Regions from separate parts of the Homo sapiens genome. Here regions 2 and 3 are each linked to region 1. Evidence: promoter capture Hi-C in human tissues and cell types (Jung and others, 2019). All regions are on one chromosome and are shown on one strand. The core of a region is centred on a gene start or on the middle of the fragment in contact, and the rest is flanking DNA. Distances in the headings are between cores, read along the strand shown.

Region 1 (2,827 bases), core at 202-2,701:
ATCCCAGCACTTTGGAAGGCCAAGTCGGGCAGATCACTTGAGGTCAGGAGTTCATGACCAGCCTGGCCAACACGGTGAAACCCAGTCTCTACTAAAAATACAAAAACTAGCCGGGCATGGTGGCACACGCCTGTAATCCCAGCTACTTGGGAGGCTGAGGCAGGAGAAATCGCTTGAACCCGGGAGGCGGAGATTGCAATAAGCCGAGATCGTGCCACTGCACTCCAGCCTGAGCAATAGAGCAAGACGCCCTTTCAAAAAAATAAAAAATAAAGGACACCTGAAAACTCTAGCAAGGTAACAGATTAAAACCAAGTGCAGAACAGGCACCAAAACTTCTTCACATAATCTGAGGAAACAGTTCAAGAATCAGGGGCAAAGTTAGAGTTAGATTTCATGGAAAAAAATCATTCACCTCATCCCTCAAGCAGAAGACTATGAATATTCTAAATTCCAATGCACTTCTCCAACTCTCCTGTTTCTGCTCCCCTTACGATTGTTATGAATCTCAGCCACCATCAAAATTATTACAATCTTGCTCATCAACACAGGGATGAATTAGAGGGCCTTTTCTAAACAGGGTCCTTCCAAGAAAACTATCTCATCACATCTACTTTCAACAGCTGTATCATTCCAATTATCCTGTAGACAGAAGGGGCCCAGAAAGCAGGAGCACTCAGAGTTGCTGCAAAGGGAACAATGGACCTCTCCCCCTTTGCTAGAAGGGCCACCTTGACTATAGAAAAGGAGCTGATCCTGGTCTAAAACTCTTTAAACTCAAAGTTATCTCAATAGCTGTTCTTCCAAACCCTAAACCTTACAGAGGTAGGTCACTGACACTAAGTTTAAAATATGTCCTCTCCCTTTATGTTTCCAAAGCCGGGGGGAGGGGTAAAGAAAGGAGCTTCTTCTCCAGAAAATAATCCCCTCAAACACATTCAAGAGCTTGGAGTCAGACTGAAGTCTCGACTCCATTCTGGGTGGATAGTCGAGGGTGACAACCCAAGGGGGCGGGGCAAGCTTCCTAGAACTCTGAAAGTAGTCAAGCCATGGAGCCTCGGAGAGCCGAGGATCAAAACCGAGAAGCCAAGTCGGCTTCTAGGGCCACGTTAAGAGAGGGGGCTGCTCTGTTAAGCACAGAGACCAAACGTCTTGCACCTTTTAACAGGCTCGGGGCAGGAAGCAGGAGCCGGAATCTGGGCCGGGAGACGAAGGGATGGTCTAGGACCTGCTCCTGGATGGTGGATGCGTGAGGTGAGGGTCTCTACCCAGGCCCCGCCCCCAGGCTCCTCCCTTCTTTCTGAAACCGGACCCCAATCTGGCCAGTAATACCCTGACCTCTCCTTTGCTTTCCTACCCGCCAACCTCCCGATGCCACTCCTCACCCGGCTCCAGATCCAGGTTAGACTTCGTTCCTAACGTCAAGGCTCCCAGGCTCCACTTCCGGTTCCGAGGGGGCCGTCCCGTCACCCCCGGAAGTTCCTCCTCCACGCTTTAGGGCCGGGCCACTTCTTCTGCCACGTCTGCATTTCGGGGACCCGGATGCCGCGCATGCGCCTCTTTCATCTTCCCATCATGGCCGCCGCCTGTGCGCCTCTGCTGAGTCGTATGTATTTCCCTCCTGACATTTTTTTTCAGATGTTCCAGTCACTTTATGGCCTCACCAACAGAAATGAGATTAAAAAGAATTTGTCAAACTATCTTTAATAATGCCCCTTCACTCTGCCTGTGACGTATTAGTGACCTCTGAGCTAGAGTCTTGTAGTCACTTCCTGGTGACCCCTGACCCCGTTGATTTCCGTCCGCTAGGTTGCTCTCACCCATGGCGTTTGCTGGTTATGAGATTTGCGGAACGTGTGGTGGTGGTAAAGGGCACCAACTGTTGTCAACCTGCATGTGGGGGTCTGAGGTCTGGCTCTACAGCTTGTAAAATGGAAATAATAATGCCCAGAGGATGAAATTAGGCCACATAGGCCGCTTGGCATCATAGTAAGCACTCAGTAAAGGTCAATTGTTATTAACCATTTTTATACAGCGCCTTTGTTTAGGTGCAGAGCTTTATCAGAGCCAAAAGATCTCTGCGCTCTGTTGGAAAAGATAGTTCCTGCAGTAATTATTAGTACCCCATTTAATGGCTAAGTAATTATAGCTAACAGTGCTAGGATTTCTTTTTCATATATGACTTCATTTGAACTTTTCAGTACTATTTGTTGATTTCATAATTTTTCGAGCACTGCTGTTGAAACTGCCTTTGCAAAATTACAACTGAGGAAATTATGATAGTGGAAGAAATCAGACTTAACCGACTCCATCTTGCTTCTAACCTTTAAGCTGTCCTTATTCATTCCTGGGTGTAGGTGGAACTAACTTTGGGGAGGAATTCAGTTTATGGTTTGAAACAAAATTGATAATAGCCCCTTCCCGAAAAGACCCCCTTCTTGCCTGGGGACCAGTCTGTCTTTACAGGACTAACAAATTAGCTACAAGATTACAAATTACAGTTTAGGGGACATGCAGCCTCTCGCTCCAAGAGTCTGAACCTCCCCAAATTGCTTTTAGGAATAACATAACTATTGTAAAACCTAAGATTAGTGCTTGAGATGTTTTGCAGACCCTGCACTCATTGGATCAGCTGACTACCTAGACCAGTAACCTGGCTCAATCAGTTCTGCCATTCCACCCAGGAACAGAAAACAGCAAGAAAACCTCACTTTGACTCCCTGTGATTCCGTCTTCAACCTGACCAATCAGCACTCCCCGCTTCCCAAGCTCCTACTCGCCAAATTATCTTTAAGAACTCTGATCCTCAAATGCTCAGGGAGACTAA
Region 2 (2,827 bases), core at 93-2,592, 1.1 Mb after region 1:
GTTCTCTGGGACCAGCGAGGTGGCTCGCACTTGTTAATCCCAGCACTTTGGGAAGCCGAGACGGGAGGATCGCCCGAGGTCAGGAGTTTGAGACTAGCCTGCCCAACATGGCGAAACCCCGTCTGTACTAAAAATACAAAAATTAGCCGGGCGTGGTGGGGCGTGCCTGTAATCTCAGCTACTCGGGAGGCTGAGGCAGAAGAATCACTTGAACCTGGGAGGAGGATGTTGCAGTGAGCATCACTGCACTCCAACCTGGGCGACAGTGCGAGACTCCGTCTCAAAACAAACGAACAAACAACCAACCAACACCCCGCTGCCCCCCCCCCAAAAAAATTCTCTGGTATTATAGTCATATTTCCATCCTATTTCCACAGCAGGGGTGAGGATCCTTTGCCATCCCATTTTTCTGATAAAAACACCTTCTTCAGCCGGGCGCAGTGGCTCACGCCTGTAATCCTCGCACTTTGGGAGGCCGAGGTGGGCGGATCACCTGAGGTCGGGCGTTCCAGACCAGCCTGACCAACATGGAAAAACCCCGTCTCTACCAAAAATACAAATTAGTAGGGCGTGGTGGCGCATGCCTGTAATCCCAGCTACTTGGGAGGCTGAGGCAGGAGAATCGCTTGAACCCAGGAGGCAGAGATTGCAGAGAGCCGAGATCGCTCCACTGCACTCCAGCCTGGGCATCAAGAGTGAAACTCTATCTCAAAACAAACAAACAAACAAACAAACAAAAAACACATTCTTCAAGGGAAAACATGTTTTTAAGTGGCTTCTAGAGATTATAAACTCTGCAATAATATTAGTCTGCAAATAAAACACCTGACAAAATCATCCACCAGAGGAAGTGGTGAGGGTTTCTAAATCCAAAAAAGTCTCAAGGTTATGAAACAGGAACATTTAATCTCTGAGAAAACCTAAACGGAGTTGGAAAGAAACAATTTCCAACTCACTGTGGTCCAGTTTTCTTTTCACGAACTCCTTTTTGCTTAGCCAACATAGCCAACACGAAAACGGGTACCGAGGAGGTGTTACAAGCCACAGTAAATTTCTCAACAGATTCCTATGACCCTTGTGGAGGGGAAAAAAACCAGAAGAAATGCCCGAGAGCTTCTGGGAGCTCTCCAGCTTTCCCGCCTAAACGCTGAGGGGAGTAAGGGGGAGTGACGGGGCTAGGGCGGGGCCCGAGGCTGGGGCGTGGCGCGTTGATTTCCCCGCCCCTCCCCGTTCCTTTTCCTCTGTGCCCCTCCCACACGCCTGTCTCCACGATCCCGACAGGCCCAGCGGCTAGGAGAGTCACGTGAGAGTGGGCGGAGGGGGTGGAGGTTTGTCTCCGCTGTTTCATCTCTATGGCTGTCAGAGGTGGGCGGCTTTGACCGAGAGGCTGCTGGAGCTCGTGTTTGGACGCGTGAGTCTTGGACTCTGGAGGGTATAAGGAGACAGCAATTTAGGGAAGGCGAAGGGGAAGGGGGTTGGCGAGACAGCCTTAGGGAACTGGGCTTCGTGGCTGGCCGTTTGTCCGCCCCGGGCATCCGGCTACTTCTCGGGTCTGGCGGGATACCTGTCTCTCCCTGATGCGCTCAGCTTTTGGAGAGGAGTCCGTAGTCTTGCTTGCCTCCCGTCCTCCACTTTCCTTCACCCCAACCCGTCCCTTCTCCCGTCCCGGGAGAACTTCTCCCAGTGCCGGGTTCGCAACTTGGCGCCGACGCCCCCCTCCTCACAGGCGACTGGGACACTCTGGTAGCCTTGACTGGCTCTCCTGGAATTTGTGGATGTGGTTAGAAGTGGGTGCGGGAGTTCACAGATGGATTTCTAATACGGAGAAATATTAACCACTGAATCGAAATAAGTGGAAAATCAGTGAGGACTCAAAGGAGAAATACAAAGTGCAGGCTACTCGGACTGTTCAGTTTTTATCTTTTCCAGCGCCTTCCCGTTTTCATTACGTTCTCCCTGTTTTGTTTTCACCGTCGCATTCTGGCCGGCCATAGGCTGTTTTGAGAAAGAGCTAGATGTTATTGACTCTATGTGAATGTTGGGAGAACAGTTTAAAACAAACTGTTCTTCAAGTTGCCTTCTCTGTAATCTTATGGTTGATGGTTTCTTTACCTTCCAATTTTCCATGTCTTAAAAAATACGGTGGCCATTAGTAAATATAAGTAGAATAAATATCTTATAGCTAAGGGACTAGAGTAAAATATTTTATTTTTCCTGTGGTACCTTAGAAACGCCCATTTTCTTCCTATTTATCAATAAATGTTTCTATCTCACTTGTTTGGGTGGCTTCTTTGATATGCCTTTGTTTATATTAGAACATCCCTTTGGGGCACGTAGGGAAGTGATCGAGCAGTATAAGAAAGGAGTTTGCATTTCATGAGGTGAAACAAGTTCGGTGTGGATAGCTGTAGGAGAGTTTAGGTTTCATTGGACCATATGACAAATAATAAACGTCAGTATCTTGAGACAAAGGTGTTGGCCAGAATGACCCACCTACTGTGTTTCTGGTGTGGACCAGGTAATGAGCTTTTTGAATATTGCCTTATCCTAAAAACTTTAGAACCCATTGCCACTTGTCTGTAGGAAGGTGGCTTTTGCCTCCAGCTACTCTTTGTCCCAATCCTTGGTTTGTCCCTGATTGTCTCTTCCACTTAAGAACATCACTCTGGCTACCTAATATATCAAGCAAGTGTCTCTGACATCTTCTGAGTGTCCTTACTGAGAGCCATAAAACATAATATTAACAAAAAGTGAATATTCTGGAGTGGCTTGTGTGCCTGAGGAGAAAGGGAAAGAATGATAGAAACTAATAGAAGCTAATAAATGC
Region 3 (2,827 bases), core at 155-2,654, 1.1 Mb before region 1:
TCCCTTGAAGACTCCAGATCAAGTTTAACATAATGAATCCAGCGTATCACGGGTCGCCATAGCTCACGTCTGTAATCCCATCAGTCAGGCAGAGGTGGGCAGATCACTTGAGGCCAGGAGTTCGAGACCAGCCTGGGCAACATAGTGAGACCCTTTTCTCATTTTTATAAAAAATAATAAATACAGCCTATCAAACAACTTGTCTCCCAAACTAACACCTTTCTCTGCCCCATCCTCACCCCTGGCACAGTCCACCAAATCACATTCACCGAAAATTACTGTACAGCTCCACCCACTTTCTTCACACCTGCCGCCTTGTCCCACCCCTACCAATCCCTTGTCCCCAGGAGATTTTCTGCCACAGATTTTGCAAGTTCTAAGCAGCCTCTCTCCCCTTCCTTCATATTTAAGTTTGCTCTGCTGTCTTAGCATCATCTTTCAGAAACTCTCCCAAGCACAACCATCCCATCCTTCCACGTTTTTAAAAAATACTTCATACCCCAAAGCTAGCAAACCTCCTTCTTATTCCAACATGCGATCCACCCAGATACCTCTTTCCCATCACTGCAATCGTACCTGCTCCTCACATGCGCCTCAATGCCTCCCCAAACCCCTCAACGCCTCCCCAAACCCAACACTCTGCACCGCTTCAACTCTACTCCACATCCACCACACCCAAACCCACCTACTCTGCGCCCAGACAACTGCAATCTCGCCTTCGGTATCATCTCACCTGCCCTCACACACCCCTCGGTCCGCCTTCCACTTCTCTCAAATTGCATCCCTCCCTAACTCTCCCTCTGCACCTGCTTCTACACCTTCAGCTTCTCCTCCCACCCAACCCTCACTAGTCTTCCTCACACCCTCGCCGGCCCCCCACCGCTCCTACCAGTTCACTCCCACTCAGAAATTCCCTCTCAGCCCCCGCCTTCCGACTCCCCGAACCCCGCCCCCACCCGATCCCGCCCCGCCCCCCTCCGCCCTCGAGCCCCGCCCCCTTGCCCTAGAGCCCTGCCGAGGGGCGGGGCCTGTCCCTCCTCCCCTTTCCCCCGCCCCCTACCGTCACGCTCAGGGGCAGCCTGACCCCGAGCGGCCCCGCGGTGACCCTCGCGCAGAGGCCTGTGGGAGGGGCGTCGCAAGCCCCTGAATCCCCCCCCGTCTGTTCCCCCCTCCCGCCCAGTCTCCTCCCCCTGGGAACGCGCGGGGTGGGTGACAGACCTGGCTGCGCGCCACCGCCACCGCGCCTGCCGGGGGCGCTGCCGCTGCCTGAGAAACTGCGGCTGCCGCCTGGAGGAGGTGCCGTCGCCTCCGCCACCGCTGCCGCCGCCGCCAGGGGTAGGAGCTAAGCCGCCGCCATTTTGTGTCCCCCTGTTGTTGTCGTTGACATGAATCCGACATGACACTGATTACAGCCCAATGGAGTCTCATTAAACCCGAGTCGCGGTCCCGCCCCGCCGCTGCTCCATTGGAGGAGACCAAAGACACTTAAGGCCACCCGTTGGCCTACGGGTCTGTCTGTCACCCACTCACTAACCACTCTGCAGCCCATTGGGGCAGGTTCCTGCCGGTCATCTCGCTTCCACATAAACACACCCCTCGACCCATCATCCCCCCCTCCGGCACCACCCCGGGGGAGGGTCCACTGCCAATACCAATCAACAGACCGCTGGGTCCGCCTCTTCCGGGCACCTATTGGTCCAGCCCTTTTTCTCTCTCCTAGATACCGCGCCACCTCTACTTCCACCTACCCGCCCCCTCCACCTCTAGGAAAGGATTGGGTCTACTCGCAGCAGAGGAGCGTAGCCTTATTGGCTGCAGACGACGCCAATCAGGAGGCCTTTTCCCTCTCCCCTCCCCCACTCAACCCCAAACCCCCTAGCCCGCAGCTAAAGTTTGTGTGAGAGCTGATCGCTGGCGGCGGCCGCAGGATTTAGGGGTGGGCGCGGGCGGGCGCGCGCGGGCGGGCACGCGAAGTTAAAATTCGAGGTTCTCAGTCGCCAGCTCCTTCGGTGGAGTGTGCGGACGGGCGCGCCGCCCGGAGCGTTCCATCCCGCCCCCTCCTCCACCCTCTCTCCCGTCCCGTCCCGTCCCGGGCGACTACTCGCCCGCCCCCTGGCTCGCATCCTTCCCCCCCCAACACACCCCTACCCTGCCAGCCCCAGGCCGGGTGCAGGCAGAACGATGTCGCTGCAGCCTCCTCGCCATCCCATGCCTCGGGGGAGCAAGCCCCTACCCACCGGGCGTGCACCCCCCGGCTCCACACTCGCCCGTGTCTGCAAGCACGTGCACCGCTCGCCGCTGCCTCCGGCCACCCGGGTCCCCGGCTAACCTCGCCTGCAGCCCGGCCAATCGCTCGCTGCCCTTTGTTGCTGCAGCCTGGGTCTCCCCGCTGCCTTCCTCAGCCTCCGCCTCGTCCTTTGCCAGCCGCCCGGGTCCGCAGCGCCGCGCTCCCCCCGCCCGGGACCCACCGCCGCCGCCTCCTTCTCCTCCTCCGCCTCCTCCTCCTCGGCTCCGGGCTGCAGCGCACAGAGCCCGAGGCAGCGCCGCCCAGCCCCGCTCCCCCCGCGCCGCCCGCCAGCCCGCCCGGCCTGGCCGGGGGCGCAGCCCGGACCCCGCCCGCCCCAGTCTCCGCCCCGGGGGTACCTGCCTCCGCCCCGGGGGGCTCCTCTCGCCGCCCTCGGGGGAGGGCGGAGACGCTGGTGTCCGCGGGAGGATGGGGACGCCTGGGCCGTTTGGGGCGGGGAGTGTGCCCGCCAGGGCTGGGACTGAGGTGCGGTCCTCGCCAACGCGTCCCCACTCCCGTCGCTGTGGGCCCCAAACTTCGTCC

What was found. Contacts are between HindIII fragments. The study calls those that stand out against the background at their distance.
Region 2: the fragment with the promoter of MICU1 here is called in contact with the fragment with the promoter of SEC24C in region 1 in 1 of the 25 tissues and cell types used here (aorta).
Region 3: the fragment with the promoter of KAT6B here is called in contact with the fragment with the promoter of SEC24C in region 1 in 1 of the 25 tissues and cell types used here (spleen).

What each region holds. Positions count from the first base shown.
Region 1 is chr10:73,742,996-73,745,822 of GRCh38, reverse strand. SEC24C (SEC24 homolog C, COPII component) reads right to left here and starts at 1,451. Exons shown (of 23, transcript NM_198597.3): 1 at 1,386-1,451. LOC124902453 (a long non-coding RNA gene) reads left to right here and starts at 1,558. Exons shown (of 2, transcript XR_007062195.1): 1 at 1,558-1,606; 2 at 2,612-2,827. RefSeq lists enhancers at 936-1,502, 1,403-1,832, 1,503-2,070, 910-2,109. The HindIII fragment of the contact is 12,749 bases long and covers 1-2,827 here.
Region 2 is chr10:72,624,594-72,627,420 of GRCh38, reverse strand. MICU1 (mitochondrial calcium uptake 1) reads left to right here and starts at 1,342. Exons shown (of 12, transcript NM_001195518.2): 1 at 1,342-1,411. RefSeq lists enhancers at 1,338-1,487, 1,038-1,575. The HindIII fragment of the contact is 10,311 bases long and covers 1-2,827 here.
Region 3 is chr10:74,825,177-74,828,003 of GRCh38, reverse strand. KAT6B (lysine acetyltransferase 6B) reads right to left here and starts at 1,404. Exons shown (of 18, transcript NM_012330.4): 1 at 1,219-1,404. RefSeq lists silencers at 939-1,338, 2,029-2,228, 2,339-2,438, 2,549-2,718 and enhancers at 1,554-2,325, 2,326-2,827. The HindIII fragment of the contact is 20,011 bases long and covers 1-2,827 here.